6 separate regions of the Homo sapiens genome follow, and regions 2, 3, 4, 5 and 6 are each linked to region 1. The links are contacts of gene promoters, found by promoter capture Hi-C in blood cells and fetal thymus (Javierre and others, 2016). All regions are on one chromosome and are shown on one strand. Each heading gives the region's core, a stretch centred on a gene start or on the middle of the fragment in contact. The rest is flanking DNA. Distances are from core to core; before and after follow the strand shown. Region 1 holds the start of C10orf67 (chromosome 10 open reading frame 67). Region 2 has its middle 290 kb from the start of OTUD1. Region 3 has its middle 270 kb from the start of OTUD1. Region 4 has its middle 250 kb from the start of OTUD1. Region 5 has its middle 200 kb from the start of OTUD1. Region 6 has its middle 180 kb from the start of OTUD1.

Evidence for each region. The method cuts DNA at HindIII sites, captures the fragments that hold promoters and counts their contacts. A CHiCAGO score of 5 or more calls a contact.
Region 2: a fragment that was not itself captured here is called in contact with the fragment with the promoter of C10orf67 in region 1 in 1 of 17 cell types (monocytes); the score reaches 5.0 in monocytes.
Region 3: a fragment that was not itself captured here is called in contact with the fragment with the promoter of C10orf67 in region 1 in 2 of 17 cell types (monocytes and M0 macrophages); the score reaches 9.0 in monocytes.
Region 4: a contact is called between a fragment that was not itself captured here and the fragment with the promoter of C10orf67 in region 1, in 2 of 17 cell types (monocytes and M1 macrophages). The highest score is 7.8, in monocytes.
Region 5: a contact is called between a fragment that was not itself captured here and the fragment with the promoter of C10orf67 in region 1, in 3 of 17 cell types (monocytes, M1 macrophages and M0 macrophages). The highest score is 9.0, in monocytes.
Region 6: a contact is called between a fragment that was not itself captured here and the fragment with the promoter of C10orf67 in region 1, in 1 of 17 cell types (monocytes). The highest score is 5.7, in monocytes.

The regions. Positions count from the first base shown.
Region 1 is chr10:23,343,429-23,346,385 of GRCh38, forward strand. It overlaps C10orf67 (chromosome 10 open reading frame 67), which reads right to left and starts at 1,369. Exons shown (of 16, transcript NM_001371909.1): 1 at 1,141-1,369. The coding sequence starts at 1,346. C10orf67-AS1 (C10orf67 antisense RNA 1) reads left to right here and starts at 529. Exons shown (of 2, transcript NR_155752.1): 1 at 529-662; 2 at 996-1,733. RefSeq lists a silencer at 2,492-2,786. The HindIII fragment of the contact is 9,174 bases long and covers 1-2,957 here.
Region 2 is chr10:23,728,825-23,731,781 of GRCh38, forward strand. It overlaps a transcript of KIAA1217 not described here. Among named protein-coding and RNA genes, the nearest start is that of OTUD1, 290 kb to the left of the region's middle. The HindIII fragment of the contact is 2,922 bases long and covers 1-2,868 here.
Region 3 is chr10:23,709,261-23,712,217 of GRCh38, forward strand. It overlaps a transcript of KIAA1217 not described here. Among named protein-coding and RNA genes, the nearest start is that of OTUD1, 270 kb to the left of the region's middle. The HindIII fragment of the contact is 1,894 bases long and covers 588-2,481 here.
Region 4 is chr10:23,685,529-23,688,485 of GRCh38, forward strand. No RefSeq gene overlaps it. Among named protein-coding and RNA genes, the nearest start is that of OTUD1, 250 kb to the left of the region's middle. The HindIII fragment of the contact is 4,451 bases long and covers 1-2,957 here.
Region 5 is chr10:23,633,717-23,636,673 of GRCh38, forward strand. No RefSeq gene overlaps it. Among named protein-coding and RNA genes, the nearest start is that of OTUD1, 200 kb to the left of the region's middle. The HindIII fragment of the contact is 1,115 bases long and covers 973-2,087 here.
Region 6 is chr10:23,616,829-23,619,785 of GRCh38, forward strand. No RefSeq gene overlaps it. Among named protein-coding and RNA genes, the nearest start is that of OTUD1, 180 kb to the left of the region's middle. The HindIII fragment of the contact is 6,427 bases long and covers 1-2,957 here.

The sequences.
Region 1 (2,957 bases), core at 119-2,618:
CCCAGCCTCCAGAACTGGGAGAAACAAATTCCTGTTGCTTATAAGCCACCCAGCCTATGTTGTTTTGTTACAGCAGCCCGAGGGGACTAAGACGGGTACTGTGTCCTAGATTAGCTCATTTAATATTCACTATGATCTATGAAGCAGGCACTACTCTTCATCATTCATGAACGATTATTTCCCGCTGAGAAAACTGAGGCACAGAGCAGTCAGTCGCCTAACTCACGGCCCCTGTGAGAGGGTCGCCAAGATTCTGGAATCCGGGCAGTCTGGCTCCAGAGTCCGTGCTCTTAGTGTCCAGCTATACACTTGAAGAAGTGAAAACTGCAGCTCTTTTCGGACAGTGATCCCCTCGAAAAACAAACAAAAAACTGAAGCCCAGCGGCTGGAGCAAGGGGCCTGGAAAGGCGTTGAGCGAGGGCCGGGGCGCGAGGGCTCCGGGGCGGGCCGGCGGGGACTGCCTCTCCCGCTGGTCACCTGGGGTTGAACTGGAATTGTTCAATAGAGGCCTCGAGGCCCTCCATGATCTTCCGGCCCTCCTCTGTCTCAGGCGAGTCGCCCCAGTTCGCCATTGCAGCCCCGGACGTGCGCCTCCCGCGGAGCCGCTCGCTCTCCTGAGTCGGAGTCGGGAACCCGGCGTCCGTTGCCATGGCGACTCCCAGGTAACCGGCGAAGCGCGGGAATCCGTGGGCGGGGGCCGGGGAGGGCCGCGAGTGGAGGGGGGTGGGGAACGGGGTGGGGAGGGGAAGGGGGAAGGAGATGGGGAGGAGGGGGATAGGGAGAAGGTTGGGGATGGGGGGGAAGGGGAGAGGGAAAGGAAGTAGAGGAGGTGTGGAGGGAAGGAAGAGGGGGAAGGAGTGGGGGAAGGGGGAAGAGATGGAAAGGAGGATGGGGAGGGAGCACGCGCGGGAGGAGGGGAGTGGAGAGGGGGAGGAGGAGGCGGGGCGGGCTCCCAAGCCACCCCGCTGCGCTTTCACTGTCCCGCCTGCCTCAAGGCTTCCCCACAAGACTCCCACAGCCTGGAGGCTGCTGCGATACCCCAGAGGAAAGCTGCACCCCCGTAAATAACCCTTCAGCCTCCCGCCGTGCCCCTGGACCCTGCTCGCTTCCTCCTCTACCCAGGCGCGGAGCTCAGCCTACCTCGTGGACCCGCGCATTTGCGGGGGCTTGAATTCCCGAGCTTCTCGCTTCCTACGCGCGCAGCAGACCCGCAGCTCGGTGGCCTTGGCTTTCATGGCCTCCCAGCGTGTGCCAAAGGTCCCCCTCAAGGAGGAGGAAAAGCAGTGAACCCATCTAATAACTATGCTCATGACATAATGAGCCCTGCGATCCCGGACCAAGGCCATCATAAGAGGAGAGCAGGCTGCCTAATAAGCTGTCTCCACCTGCCACAAACGTAGGCGTTCCTGGACAAAATATTTCCTTGCAGAGATTAAACAGATTTCTATTTAATGAGGTCAGAATGTGAGGCGTTAAGTCTTAAACTATACCATCTAGTGTGGAATTCAATTTTACCAGGTTTCTACAATAATAAGAGTTAATAGTGAAACTGTTGTCATCCTTAGTTTTAAATTATGTATCACTCATTGTCAACTAATAGGAGACACCTATTCTAATATCAGTATGTCATTGTTTTTCTGTAAACGACTGGCTAAATTTATTTTTAAAATGTCATTGTCTGGTTTAGAACTGTCTATACTACATCTGCATTTCAATATATTATCTACAGAAAAATAAGTTTTTTCTCCTCTCTCTTATTATTATTATTATTATTTTTTGGAGCCGGAGTCTCGCTCTGTCGCCCAGGCTGGGGTGCAGTGGCGCGATCTGGGCTCACTGCAACCTCCGCCTCCCGGGTTCAAGCAATTCTCCTGCTTCAGCCTCCCGAGCAGCTGGGACTACAGGCACACAGCACCAAGCCAGGCTAATTTTTTGTATTTTTAGTAGAGACGGGGTTTCACCGCGTTGTGCAGGCTAGTCTAACTCCTGAGCTCAGGCAATCTGCCCCCCTCGGCCTCCCAAAGTGCTAGATAACAGGCGTGAGCCACAGAGCCCGGCCTCTTCTCTGTCTTGTAACAGTAAGTGAAAATAACTTAGCTGGATTTAGAAGCTCAAAACAGGAAAAGAAAAGCACTGTAGCATTATCACTACTATTATGTTTAAAGACAAAGATTAAAAGCCCCAAATGCCAATAAAACATCATAACCAATGCCAAAATCATCTTCTGTGAAGGCTTATTTTTTGGGGGGGAGATGAAGAGAGAAGAGAAAAAGAGTTACTTTTACTCTTTGGAGGTTTTTAATTACAAACTCTAACTTCAGACTTTATTTGGGGAATTTTTATTATATAATCAAAAGGTATTTTAAAAGAAAGAAATTTATATATCTACAATAACTTTTCTTTTTCCTAAGTGATATTTTACCACAATGTATATACATGTTTTAAAATAAAGATTAAAATTTTAAGTTAAAATTTCAAAACCTATCTGTTTAGAGCTGGGCCAAGACAGTGTAAAGAATGTGACAAGCTGTTGGCTATTTTCCTAGTGCAATTATAAATGAATCGTTTGAAACTGAGGAGAGAGATCGCACAGAAGATTTCATGAGTCATTGGTCAGCTCTGTACAGCATTTGTTGACTGATATAGTCTGCATAGTTACGCCATCCCACAAAAACATGCATTGAACAGAACATCTTTGTTTGAAACCTTGCTATAGCATATCAAGGAGTTTCAGATTTCAGTGTCTAAGAGACCACGCTATGATGATGATTGTTTTTGAAACCGTTAACTACATAATACTTCTCTTCTTGTCAGTTACCTGTATTTTATCTCACAGGTGTTCCGGCTTATAAAATTGTTTATTTCAGATCAGATTCTCACCTGTAGTAACTGGCGTTGATGTGGTCAAAACATTTGTCATATTAAATCCAGGCCTCTTTTATCACATGCTAAATTCA
Region 2 (2,957 bases), core at 158-2,657, 390 kb after region 1:
GCCCTAAGACAAGCACAGCCTCTGCAGTCATCAATATCCCACACAAATGTATGATGACATGTATCCACCATTTGTGGTACCACACAGAACAGCTTCGCTGCCCTAGAATATCCTCCGTGCTGCATCTATTCACCCCTTCCCCCACTCCCAACCCGACTGACCTTTTTACTGTCTCCATAGTTTTGCCTTTTTTTCAGAATGTCATACAGTTTGAATCCAACAGTACATAGCCTCTTCAGATTGTCTTCTTTTATCTGCTCACATGCAGTTAAGGTTTCTCCATGTCTTTTCATGGCTTCATAGCTCATTTCTTTTTAGTGGTGAATAATATTGCATTGTCTGGATGTACCATAGTTTACTTACTCATCCACCTACTGAAGGACATCTGGTTGTTTCCAAGGCTTGGCAATTATGAATAAAGCTGCTATAAACATCTGGGTAGAGGTTTTTGTGTGAACATAAGTTTTCATTTCCATTTGGTAAATACTAAGGGGCATGATTGCTGGATCATATAGTTAGAATATGTTTTGTTTTATAAGAAAGTGCCAAACTGTCTTCCAAAATGACTACACCATTTTGCATTCCCACCAACAATGAATGAGAGTTCCCGTTACTCCACATCCTTGCTAGCATTTGGTGGTGTCAGAGTTCTATATTTTGACTATTTTAATAGGTATGTACTAGTATCTCATTTTTGTTTTAATTTGCATTTATCTGAGGACATATCATATAGAAATTCTTTTCATATATCTATATTACTTCTTTAGTAGGGTGTCTGTTAAGGTCTTTGGTCCATTTTTTAATTGGCTTATTTGCTTTCTTATTGTGGAGTTTTAAGAGTTTTTATATATTTTGGATAAGCTGCCTTATCAGATATGTCTTTTGCAAATATTTTATTTCAGTCAGTGGCTTGTCTTCTAAATTTCTTGACAGTGTCTTTCAAAGAAGAGAAAGTTTTAATTTTAATGAAATCCAGTTTATTCTTTCTTTCATGGATCATTCCTTTGGCATTGTATCCAAAAAGTAATTGTCAAACCCAAAGCCCAAAGTCATCTACATTTTCTTCTGTTATTTTCTATGAAATTTTTTTTTTTTTTGACATAGTCTCACTCTGTCACCCAGGCTGGAGTGCAGTGGCACGATCTCTGTTCACTGCAAGCTCCGCCTCCCAGGTTCACACCATTGTCCTGCCTCAGTCTCCCAAGTAGGTGGGACAACAGGCGCCCACCACCATGCCTGGCTAACTTTTTGTATTTTTAGTAGAGACGGGGTTTCACTGTGTTAGCCAGGTTGGTCTCAATCTCCTGACCTCGTGATCTGCCCGCCTCGGCCTCCCAAAGTGCTGGGATTACAGGCGTGAGCCACCATGCCCGGCTTCTATGAATTTTAAAGTTCTGCTTTTTACATCTGTGTCTAGATTCTTTTTTTTTCTTGCATGTGGATGTTCAGTTGTTTCAGCACCATTTGTTGAAAATAGTCTTTTCTTTATTATATTTCCTTTTCTTATTTGTCAAATATCAGGTGATGCTAGTCTGTTTTATTAATCTATTTGTCTACTGTTTGGCGAATACCGTACTGCCTTGATTACTGTAACATTCCAGTAAGCATTGAAGTTGAGTAGTGTCAGTTCTTCAACGTTATTTTCTTTCTGAGTATTTTGCCTTTCCATATAAACTTCAGAATCAGTTTGTTCATATCTACAAAATAATTTGCTAGGATTTTTATTTTGATGGCATTTAATTTATAGATCTAGTTGGGAAGAACCAATGTCTTGACAATATTGAGTCTTCCTATCCATGAACATGGAATATTTTTCCATTTTGTAGTGTCTTTATTTTATTCATCATAATTTTGTAGTTTTTCTTACATAGATCTTGTATATATTTTGTTCAATTTATACCTAAGTATTTTATTTTTGAGGAGATGCTAATATAAATGATAATGTGTTTTAATCTCAAATTCTTTCTTGTTTATTGCTGGTATATAGGAAAGCAATGGACTTTTGTATATTAATCTTGTATTCTGAAACCTTGCTATAATTGCTTGTTAGTTTCAGAAGGCTTTTTGTTCAGTTCTTTCAGATTTTCTTCATAGACTAACATATCATCTGCAAACAAAGACAGTTTTATTTTTTCTTTCCAATCTGTCTACCTTTTAATTCATTTTCTTGTCTGATTGCATCAGCTAGCACTTCCAGTTCAATGTTGAAAAGGGGTGATAAGAGGGAACATGTCTTTTATTTCACTTTATTTTATGCTTTAATTTGGGAAGGAGAGCTTTTTTTTCAGAAGGGTTTGCAGTCTGCAGGATGGCCATCCTGACAGGCCAGGAATCATAGCCTCTGGCCAGAAGCCAGAAATAGATACTTTGAGGGAGGGGAAGGTGGAACAGAAATTTACGCTGAATGAGGTGGCTAAATATACATACTCAATAAGCCATAGGAAAGTTCATGAATGTTTATAAAAGAAATATGCACATGCACAGTTGAGCTTTATGCCCATTCCTGGGTCCCCTGTACAAAAAACAGTGGTGTTAGCATAATCTGAAGGTGGACTTTTGAGTCCTCTGATGTCAAAAGGTGAACCAGAGGACACAAATACCTGTACTACCCATTCTCTGTGGACTGACCAGGAGCGCTTCATGGTCAGTGGTCTCTTATCCGGTGAAAAAGGAAGTACAGTGTCAGTTGCTTGGTCCATATCAGTGGTGGAGTCTTTTGAAAGGGCTGGTTTCTGTTAAGCCCTTAGGGAAGAAAGCCTAAGCCCGGTTAGGGAGGGAGGGGGTACAACCAGGTAGGTATGAACCCCCATCCCATCATTTTTGAGAACTCAGTTTTCGTCCTTGCCTTGTTTTTGATCTTGGTAGGAAAGCTTCGAGTTTCTCACCATTAAGTATAAGGTTAGCTGTAGGGGATTTTTTTTTTCTTAAATATTCTTTATCAAGTCAAGGGAGTACCC
Region 3 (2,957 bases), core at 285-2,784, 370 kb after region 1:
CACTGGTAATCCCAGCACTTTGGGAGGCCGAGGTGGGCGGATCACTTGAGTCTAGGTGTTTAAGACCAGCCTGGGCAAGATAGCAAGACCTCGTCTTTATAAAATAGTTTTTTAAAAATTAGCCAGGCACGGTGGTTACACACCTGTGGTCCCAGGTACTCAGGAGGCTAAGGTGGGAGGATTCCTTGAGCCCAGGAGGATGAGGCTGCAGTGTGCAGAGAGCATGCCACTGCACTTCAGCATGAGTGACAAAGCAATACCCTGTCTCCAAAAAAGAAAAAAAAAAAATAAAGAAATAGAAACTTCCTTTCATCCGAATGCCCCTCCTTCTTTCCTAATGGAAAAATGGTTACCTATTCTTCAAAGCCTTCCTCAGATATTAAGCTTTACTATGAAACTATGAAGACTTGTGTTTATACACAATTATATGGCATTAATTATGCTCATCTAACCCTTTTTACTATGCCTGTATGGTCCTTATTACACCTAAACTGTTATCATTTTTTCTGTTTAACTCGGAGATACAAAGCCTAGAGAGATGAAGTAACTCACCCAAGGTCACAGGCAGTTGGGGCCCACAGTCTGAAAGCTTAGCCATTGTGCCATGTTGTCACTAGCTGGGAGCTCTCTGGGCAGCATTACTGATTTTCTCTTGCTTTCAACACAACTCTGTTATGTCGCACTTTCCCTATTATGTGAAGAGTTAATTATCTGATTTTCTTCTCTGGTTGAGAGTGAGCAAATTGAAGGTAGGAACTGTGTGTTACTTACTTTCATATTCCAGTGTTGGATGGATAACGGATGCAAAGTGAGTGAATGAATGACTAAAGAACATGAATGAATGAAGGGATGACTCAGAGAATAACTGAGAAAATAGAGTGGCAGGTGTGGGACGGGGCCTTCTGTTACCTTATGCAGACTGCACTTTTTCTAGGCCGAGGAGTCCCTGAGCTGCATTACAATTCAGGCCAGTGTAATTTCTGGCTTTACCATCACATAGTTTAAAATTTTCCATTAATCCTTTGGTGTGTTCTAATCAAATAATGCTGTTCTCAGTTAAACAGTTGAAGAAGCTCCCATTCTGGCAGGTATTATACTCTTTAACACAGTTGCTCTGTTGTCACCAAGGACACTTCTGCATCTGATATTGATTTAAATCTTCAGTTATGAAGGTCTTGAAGATGACTTTGTAGATAATGAAGATTGTATTGGCTCAAGAAACTGTAACAATGGAAAGAATATAGTGCATACTTGTTCATCCAATCTGAGAAACAGAGTAGCCTTATTGATAAGCAATTTACAAAGCATTTTGTTCTATGCTGATACAAAGTTGAAACATAGTGGGTGTTCTATTTGGTGTCAAGTGTTGAAAGTATTTTTGGAAAATTCATTATATTTTGGAGACAGTTCAAGTTGTGTTGAACTTTTACTCAAATAAAGATTTATATAGCTGTGCCTTGATTTTGAAAAATTTGTTTTATCAAAATCTGAATTGCAGAATAGATACATCAGAAACAAATGCCATTACAAAATAATCTCCAGGTAGCTCATCAAATACCTATGGAATGGGTACAATGAGTATAGGGAACCGGGTCACCATCTATCCTTCTTATTCTCTAGGGTCTGATCAATAAAGCAAACCAATGAAGCAAGATTGCTAGCCAGATAGAAAATGAAAAGAGTGATTTTGCTTTGTAGAGTCCTCTGTGCACATCCTTGTAAAATCTATATTAAAATATTTGCTTTAGGCTTCATCAAAAGTGAGACTATTGACTCTTACTCTTTATCTAGATGTGAGCACCACAAGCTCAGATGTGCATACAGAAGGAGTGAGGCACCAGATCTTCTGGGCCATCCCCAATACCGTGTGCTTGAATATGGATGAGGCTGGCAGGTTGGTTCCAGAAAGAAGACATTATAGGTGGAATGATGTTCCCTTAACCCCAGAAGATGTCCACATTCTAATTCCTAAAAGCTGTGGCTATTTTACCTCCGAAAGCAAAAGAGACTTTGCAGATGGGATTCTATTAAGAATCTTGAGATGGGGTTGATCAATGCCTTTGATTATCTAGGTGAGCCAATATAATCACAAGGGTCCTTACAAGAGGGAGGCAAGAGGGTCACAGAAGATGTGATGATGTAAGCAGAGGTCAAAGTGATCCACAGGCCAAGGAATTTGAGCAGCCTCCAGGAGACAGAACAGGCAAGAAACTAGAGTCTCTTGGCAGACAGCGTGGTTTTGGTCCATTGAGATTTCTGACCTATAGAACTCTAATGTAGTAAATTTGTGTTCTTTTGAGCTAGTAAGTGTGTGATTTCTTACAGCAGCAATAGGAAATTACTGTAGAAGGTTTGGGGACCTGCACAGATGTGCTTATTACAAGGGAACAAGATACAAAGGAGAACCTTCTGGGTGTCATCACAGAAAGTGAAGGACAAAGTAACCCTGTTCACCAGGAAAGCATGGTCCAGTTCATGTCAAGCTTCAACAGATGAAATCAACCACCTTCCTCTCCTGGGGAAGACGAGTGAGAGAAACAGAAGCTAATTAAGGTGTCTTAGTGGAGAGAAGTTTAACTCCAGGAATTAGAGGCTCACACAACCCTTGAAGGATGGGAAACGAAGCCTGATATGATCACTTTCAGGAAATCTAAAATGTGGGAATCGCAGAGAAACATGCTCCCTAAGTGAGTCACAGGAGGATGCCAAAGTCTATAGTCCAGACTCCACTTCTGTTGCCTGTCTGCAGACATTGTCAGAGAATGACCTTCACCTTCCAAATCTCATGTGAGACATTCTCAATGGTGGACTCTTCTAGTGACCCCACAGGCAAGGAAGAAATGTAGTTTCTAGGCTTCACCCCTCTAAAAGTCAAGGGCCAAACTGTACAGGGTATCAAAATACCTGGCACAGAGGTGAAGAGAAAATTATGGTAGAAGTTTGCTTCTCTGCAGTTT
Region 4 (2,957 bases), core at 294-2,793, 340 kb after region 1:
TTTACTTCTTACAGTTCTGGAGGCTGGGAAGTCCAAGATCAAGGAGATCAAGGCACCAGCAGGTTCAGCATCTGGTGAAGGCTTGTTCTCTGCTTCAAAGATGGTGCCTTGTTGCTGTCTCCTCACATGAAAGAGGGCAAAAAAGTGTCAAATAGGCTCCTTCAATCTCTTTCATAATGGGCATTAGGTGAGAGCCTCCATGACCTAATCACCTCTTAAAAGCCCTACTTCTTAACACTATTGCATGGGGGATTAAGTTTCAACATGAATTTTGGAGGGACACAAACATTCAGATCATAGCAGTACTTTTTGCCTCCCCTTGAGGAGTCCAGCTCCAGGCCAAAATCATCTGTATGCTCTCTTTTTTTTTGAGATGGAGTCTTGCTCTGTTGCCCAGGCTGGAGTGCAGTGGCTCCATCTCTGCTCACTGCAGGCTCTGCCTCCTGGGTTCATGCCATTCTCCTGCCTCAGCTTCCTGAGTAGCTGGGACTACAGGCGCCCACCACCACGCCCAGCTATTTTTTTTTTTGTTTTTAGTAGAGACGGGGTTTCACTGTGTTAGTGAGGATGGTCTCGATCTCCTGACCTTGTGATCTGCCCGCCTCGGCCTCCCAAAGTGCTGGGATTACAGGTGTGAGCCACCGCGCCTGGCCTCATCTGTATGATCTTTCATGTCTGACTATAGACATTTACAAAGGCTTTGCTGGCAGGCCTCATGGGGGAAGCTGCCCTTCCTTCCCAGACCTGGAGCACAGCCAGTGCAATGCAGTTTTCTGAAGGCGGTTGCAGTGAAAGACTCATGGCCCTTGGGTCTACCATGCTCATTTGCATATCTGCAAGTCTAGCCCAGGCACCTCCATTCAGAGACCTCCTTATGGGAGGGGAGGGCTTGACTCAGGCACTTTTCTCCACTCCTATTTCTTCCTGACCTCCTTCCTTCCCACCTGTGCTTTCATAAAAAGGCAGGAGCCTTTTGTTCAGGACTCCTTAGTGAGATGATTTTCCCCAGTTGGCACAGATCCTCCTGATGCTTGCCCAGAGCTCTTCTGTGGGGCCCTTTTTGCCTTTTGCCTGCACTGCTGCAGTAAGTGAACAAAGCCTTGATTGTCACTGTCAGTTTGGCTTGTTGTCCTAATTGGCCACCATCACACCTGGCTGTTCAGCACCCCCTCCTCAACTATACCCCAATTACTTGTGAACCTCTGCAGAGGTTCCCTCATGTAAGGTTCTCTCAGCTGCCTTGTGAAGCTCGTGGTTTCCTCTTCACTGGTTCTCTGGCCCCGGAGACTGAAAACTGGGAAGTTCCCTCCTAAATGGAGTTGCTGCTGGCACTGGTGCCATCTCCCAGGGATGGTGCTTCTCTGCTTAGCTGGTCTGCTGTATCAGATCCATCCTGTGGACAACAGGAGTATTGCTCGTGCTGCCACTTTTCAATGGTCTTCCTGGTCTGCTCTGTCTGCTGAGTTTTCTTAGGAGGAAGATTCTCTCCCCCATGAATCTACACACCATTATTGAGACTCACAGCACCGTTGCTTTGTTTGCTTAGTGACTAGGGGTTTTACGTAATGAGTCTCAGTTACACTAGGATAGTATTTTTCTCTCTCAAGGACCCTGACACAAAGTAACTGGGGTAAGAGAATCACCTGAGTGATAGACATTTATTGTTCTCAGAATGATTCCTTCCCTGCTTGTAGCCCAGCATCATTAAACTCCTCCTTTCTGGGAATGGGGTGAATGCTTGCGTAAGATCTTTCTTGGCCACTGGTGGTTGCTGCTGTTCATTGACTCCCTTGATCTCCATTCCATTCCCCTAAAAGGAGAAGTTGGAAAAGCTCAAACTCCATTTCCCAAGGCTCCTTTATCTAAGGTTCTAGATTCCAGGCAAGACTCACCAGCCAGACACACGAATTTGATGGCAGAAGTGAGGCAAGACCCCGGTGGCTCACGCCTGTAATCCCAGCACTTTGGGAGGCCGAGGCGGGTGGATCATGAGGTCAGCATATCGAGACCATCCTGGCTAACACAGTGAAACCCCGTCTCTACTAAAAATACAAAAAATTAGCTGGGCGTGGTGGCCGGTGCCTGTAGTCCCAGCTACTCAGGAGGCTGAGGCAGGAGAATGGGGCGAATCCGGGAGGTGGAACTTGCAGTGAGCCGAGATCATGCCGCTGCACTCCAGCCTGGGCAACAGAGCGAGACTCCCTCCATCTCAGAAAAAAAAAAAAAAGAAGTGAGGCAAGACCCATCTTCCTGCCAGCTTTGGCTGATTGTGCTGGCAAGGAAGACTGCATGAATTACAGTTGCTCTGCACTGGTAATCTCCTGCCTTCTGGAGGTCCAGGAGCACCTGCAGCAGCTAAGCAAATGTGTAGCATGATCAGAGGTGTAGCACGATCAGAGCTCCAGAGGCAGCCTTGAAAGCTGTGGCTGGCCTAGGAGTTCAGCTCTGTGTTTTTGGCATGTCGTTTCTGGAGACTCAGGTCAGAACATTTTCCTCTAGATCCTGCAATGATTTTGTGAGCACCCAATTCCTGACAGTATATTACTGCTTTCATAAAATACCTAGAGTCCTTTTTGTTTGTTGTGCGGATTTTGACAGATACGTTGCTCTTATCAATAGACCTCTGGGATGCAAGTTTAAACTCAAGCTAGAAAGATACCCTGTCTCACCTCAACCCACCCATACCACATGTCTAACTATTTCTCCTTTGAAATACATTTTTTTCCTGCCCAGCCATGAACAGCACATGTCTTCTGATGGTTTTTTAAGAAGAAGATAAGTCATTTAAAAGTTCAGAAATAGTTGCTGGAGAACAGTTGCAGTTACTGTACACTTCTCCTTTCATCATTTTAATGGGAACTTCCTGGAGGGCGTTTTGCCTTGCATTTCTCATTTGCTATGGTCTTTTACACACAAATCTGAGGATTAATTCAAGATGGCCCCCTTTTTTTTTTTAA
Region 5 (2,957 bases), core at 280-2,779, 290 kb after region 1:
GTATTCCATTTGTGTATATATACCACATTTTAAAAATTTATTCTTCTTTTGATGAACACTCAGGTTGGTTTCATATCTTGGCCATTGTGGATAAACATGGGGGTTTACTGCAATAAACATGGGAATGCTGATGTCTCTTCAACACACTGATTTTATTTCCTTTGGATATATACATATAGAGTAGAAACATTGCTGAATCACAGTAATGAGTTCTATTTTTAATTTTTTAAGGATTTCGATCTTGCTTTCCCTAATGACTGTACTAATTTATATTCCCACCAATAGTGTGTAAGAGTTCCCTTTTGTCCAAGAACTAGATTATTTTAAGATAATATGTTAATTATAATCCCCAGAGTAATCACTAAGAAAATAACTGAAAACATATAGTAAAATAAACAACAAGCAATTAAAATGTCATACTAGAAAATGTAAATGTAAAACAAAAGAAGACAGTAATGGAGGTACAAAAGAAGAAAAAATATATTAAAAATGTAGAGTAAAAAGGCAAAAGAGCAGACAAATTCTACATTATCAATAATTACACTGACAATAAATGAAACACTTCAATCAAAAGGCAGATATTGGCAGAATGGATTTAAAACATATAATCCAAGGATATGCTGTCTACAAGGAAAAATGACTTATATTAAAAGAAACAAATAGTTTAAAGGTAAAAGGAGGAAAAAAGCTATGCTATGCAAACAGTAACCCAAAGAGAGCTACAGTAGCTCTACTAACATAGACAAATTGTTGCTAGAGACAAAGATGGACAGTTTATAATGCATAAAGGAGTCAATTCATCAGGAAGATACAAGAATTGAAAACATACATGTATCTAACAACAGCGCACAAGATGCATTAAACAAAAACTGAGAGCATTGAAGGGAGAAACATAATATAAAAATAACAGTTGGGGACCCCACTTTTAATAATGAACAGAACAACACGGCAGTGGGTTAAGAAGGAAATAGAAGCTTGAACAACACTGTAAGCCAAGTAGATATGGCAGACATCTATAGAATACTCCACCCCAAATCATCAAAATATACATTCTTTTCAAATGCAGATGGAACATTCTCCAGGATAAACAATACGTCAGGACATAAGACATACCTCAGTAAACTTGAAAGGCATAAAATCGTACGAAGTATGTTCTCTGACTTTGAGGAAATGAAATCAGAAATCAATAACAGAAGAAATTGAAATCAGAGGAAAATTCAAAAAATTGACAAATAAGTGGAAATTTAATAAGTAGAAGTAATGGTAGGCTTGATACTGGGTACAGTGTACACTGCTCAAGTGATGGGTGAACCAAAATGTCAGAAATCACCACTAAATAATTTATCCATGTAACCAAAAACCACCTGTACCTCAAAAACTATGGAAATAAAATGAAAGAAGTAGTGGTAGGTTGGGGTTGTTCTATGACTTCCTCAACTAAATGACAGGGATCATTAGGGTATTATCATCCCCTCCTCTCCCCTCCCTTCTCCTCCCCTCTCCTCTCCTCTCTCCTCTCCAACACAGTCACTTTCTTTCACCCAGGCTGGAGTGCAGTGGCACCATCTCACCTCACTGCAACCCCTGCCTCTAGGGTTCAAGTGATTCTCCTGCCTCAGCCTCCTGAGTAGCTGGGACTACAGGTGCGCACCACCACACTTGGCTAATTTTTGTATTTTTAGTAGAGATGGGGTTTCACCATGTTGGCCAGGCTGGTCTCAAACTCCTGACCTCAAGTGATCTGCCCACCTTGACATCCCAAAGTGCTGGGATTACAGGCATGAGCCACCACACCCAGCCTATTATCATTCAGTTCTAAATATTTACACATTTTAGTATGCTTATTTGAGTTATGAGTTGTGTTGAATTGGGATTTTTCTAATTTCTAGTTTTGCTATCTTTTTGCTATTTATTCTAAATTACATTTTGGTCAGAGAATGTGGTCTGTGTGATATGTATTCTCTGAAATGTGTTGAAAATTTATGTCCCAGTATGTGATTGGTGCTTATTAATTAATGTTTTTTTCTTTGCTTGAAATTAACATGTATTATCCAATTAGTGCTGGCAACACTTTGTTCATTAAATCAAGCTTGTTAATTGTATTGCTTTAATATTTTATCATTTCTGGGTTTTTTCTTTGCCAGATCCATAAATGACAGACAGAGATTTAAAATGTGTCACTACAAGGGTGGATCTGTCAATTTATACTTAGAGTTCTGTCAATTTTCTCTTTATTTTGGGGTTCTGTTATGCTGAATTTAATCATTTCTTCCCCATATTTAGTAAGGGACTTTATAAAACTCTAGTAATGTTTTCTACATTAAACACTTTTTTCCTTTTTATATGAATGTAGTAATTATATCCACTTCCCCCCCAGCTCTATTTTAGAGTAGTATAATTTCAAGCTTACAAAAAAGTTTTATAAGGAATACAAATGCTCTAATGTCTCCTTCACCCAGATCCCCAAATTGTCAGGATTTTACCACATTTGATTTTCCCCCCTCCAACCTCAGTGGGGCAACTTCCTTAAAGACAAGGAAGAAATAGAAGAAGAGAGGAAGGAAAGGGAAGGAGAAAGAAAGAAATGAATACCAGTTTTTCTTTAGTTATTTGCCTGGTATACAATTTCCCTTTTAAAAAATTTTAGTGACTCCTTTTTATAATGTTCTTACACACATAATATCACTGGATTTTTGTTAATCTAGCCCAATAATCTCTGTGTCTAAGTGTAGAGTGCAGTCCACTTTTATTATAACTTTTGATATATTTGGGCGTATACCTGCCATCTTGTTTTGTGTTTTCTATTTGTAAAAGAACTCTTGGTTTTTCCTTTTTCTCTCTTGCCTTTCTTTGCATTACTACTGTGGAAATAAAATGTTCTACTTATTATGGTTACTCTAGAAATATACTATATTTAATAAAGTCTAAAATTAGTCATTATCAGCCAAGCACCGTGG
Region 6 (2,957 bases), core at 283-2,782, 270 kb after region 1:
TTAGCAGTATGAACTATTGCAGCTACTGTGAACTGAACAATAGAGGAAGGCCAATTATTCCAAAGCTGCATTTAACGGCTGCTCACCTTGCACAGATATCTCTCTTCAAAATCAACTACAATGCAACATGCATTTTCTGAGGAATTCAAGAGATAGGGAGATTGGCACATTTAAACAGCAGCATTTTGAAGTCTGGTGTCAGACATGAAGAATCTTGGGTCAACTGTACTGTTATTCTGCTTCTTTGTGTTCTTGGTCAGTTGGATTCTTAACACACATACTCTCTATATAAAAACATATAAATATTATACATATATAAACATAAATATCATATATATATATATACAAAACCAGAATATATGTATATACAAAACCAGAATATATATATATACACAAAACCAGAATGAATATATATATATACAAACAAAAACCAGAATGATGACTAGGAAACAATAATTTTTGTTCATAAAATCTTCTATATGAGAGGCATGTTTTCATATGTCCTTGTACTCAATATCGGTGAGTTCTCCCAAAAATAGCCTGAGAACTGGCTTGAGCAAACCAAGAAAAGGATAAAACTCAACCTCTTCCTGCAAGTGGGTTATAAACCTAAATGTGAAAAGAAAAAATATTAAGTGAATGAATACATTGTACATATATTAGCACACTGAAATTCTAAAAATAAAAAGATGAACCAGAGGTTTTTTTGGGAAGAATCTTATAACCACAATATGGATCAAAAAAAGCAAGGCACAAAATAATGGGTACACTATATTTCTCACTGATATAAAATAAAAAACCAGGAGAAATCATACCTTAAAGGTGATAAAACTATAAAGAAAATGTAGAACTAGAATAGGACCACTGTAAGAATCAGGGTGGCAGTTTCCTGTAGAGTGAGAGGATTTCCACTAGAAAGACAATATTTTAAGCACATTTGTTATATATAATCATTCATGGCACTGCATATTTGAATGTTTTGCATTCTCCTGTATGTCTGTTATGTCCAAACAAAAATATTTTAAAAAATACACCCACCAGAAAGAGAATCCTGTTGGCATGATTTTAGATTCCAAAATAAAGCAGATAATTGACTTTTATTTTTTATTTTTTGAGATGCGGTCTTAGGCTGTCACCCAGACTGGAGTGCAGTGGTGCGATCTCGGCTCACTGCAACCTCTGCCTCCCGGGTTCAAGCGATTCTCCTGCCTCAGCCTCCTGAGTAGCTGGGATTACAGGCTAAACCACCACACCTGGGTAGTTTTTGTATTTTTAATAGAGATGGGGTTTCATCATGTTGGTCAGGCTGGTCTCAAACTCCTGACCTCAAGTGATCCGCCCGCCTTGGCCTCCCAAAGTGCTGGGATTACAGGTGTGAGACACCTCACCCAGCCCAAAGCAGAGATTTATTATCCAGCCCCTGTGCTTTGAATATAAAGCCAGTGTCATGCTAAGATCTTGAGCAGCCTCCCAGGTGTCATTGACAACCTGTATTTAATGTTAAATAATAGCAGAACTTATACAAATGAAGTACTTACTACGTCCCAGGTAATGTGCTAAGGGTCCAGCATACATTAGCTCATTTAATTCTCACATCAACCCTCACAGCTAAAGACAGTCAACCCTCCTTGGGTTCTGCATTAGTGGGTTCAACCAGCTGCTAATCAAAAATATTTGATAGAAGAAAAAAAGGATGGTTGCATCTGTATTGAACAAGTACAGACTTTTTCCCCCTCATCACTATTCCCTAAACAATACAATTTAACAACTATTTACATAGCATTTACATTGGATTAGGTATTATAAGCAATCTAGAGATGATTTAAATTATACAGGAGGATGAGCACAGGTTATATGCAAAAACAAAGCCATTTTATATCAGAGGCTTGAGCATCCACAGATTGTGGAGTCTTTGGGGTTACTGGAACCAATCCCCTGTGCATACCAAAGGGTGTGTCTACTATTATGGTTATTTTACAAAGAAGGGTAATGCATGTTGGTCAGGTAAGCACCTGCATACAGTGCTCAGATTGAGGAAGGAGCTGAGGTAGACTCTGACCCAGGTGGGTCTGCTGTCCAGTTGACTGCTGAGTTGCCATCCTATTTTACTCCTTTGTTAACCACTTAGACATCATCGCCAGTGGCAAAATCTTGAACAGACAACTATTATACAGAGGTTGGTTCGAAAAGCATGGCATTCATTCATTCTACAGTCATTCCTGTGCCAAGCTCTATGTTGGGTTTTGTGACTACAAAGAGGAAAATGACATCAGCCCTGCCCTCAGGGACCTGCTCCAGAACCAAGAGAGTCAGGTAAACAGACAAACAAAACCAGCAGCTTATGAGTGCACTACAGTGGCGTGGGGACAAACAAATCTGGAAGAAGAAAATAGATATCAGGCAAGAGAAGCTCAGTTTTAATCAGAGCCTTTTAACCAACCAGCCCATCTCTCTGTATTACTTACTCCTTCACTTGTCTCTGATTCCCTTAGAGTGATCTGTAGCCTATCACTTGCTTTTCCCTAACTGGACTCCACGTTTTTCCATTCCCAGTCTTGCCAGGTGTGATTCTTCTAAGTCCCCAACTACATCCCCACTCTTTTCTGTTCCCCTCTTCTTCCCACTTCCTCTCTCCACCCTTTTTGGCTACCTAAATCAAACCTATCCTTTACTACCTGTAACTCTCCGGATGCCCCTCACCAGAAGTGAGCACGACTTTTCCAACACTCTTCCGTGTTTCATTCATGCCGTGTTTGCAGCCTATAGTGCAATTGACCTTGTGTTACAATTATTTACATGAATGTTTTATCTTCCTTGCTAGAGTACAAGCTCCTTCAGCCCAGAAAACATGATTAATTTGCTTTGTGTTTGTCACAAAGGCCAAGAATTGTGCCTAGAGCAAACATCGCCTTGTTGAATGGTATTGGACACATAAACAGCTGAGAAGTATTTGGCAG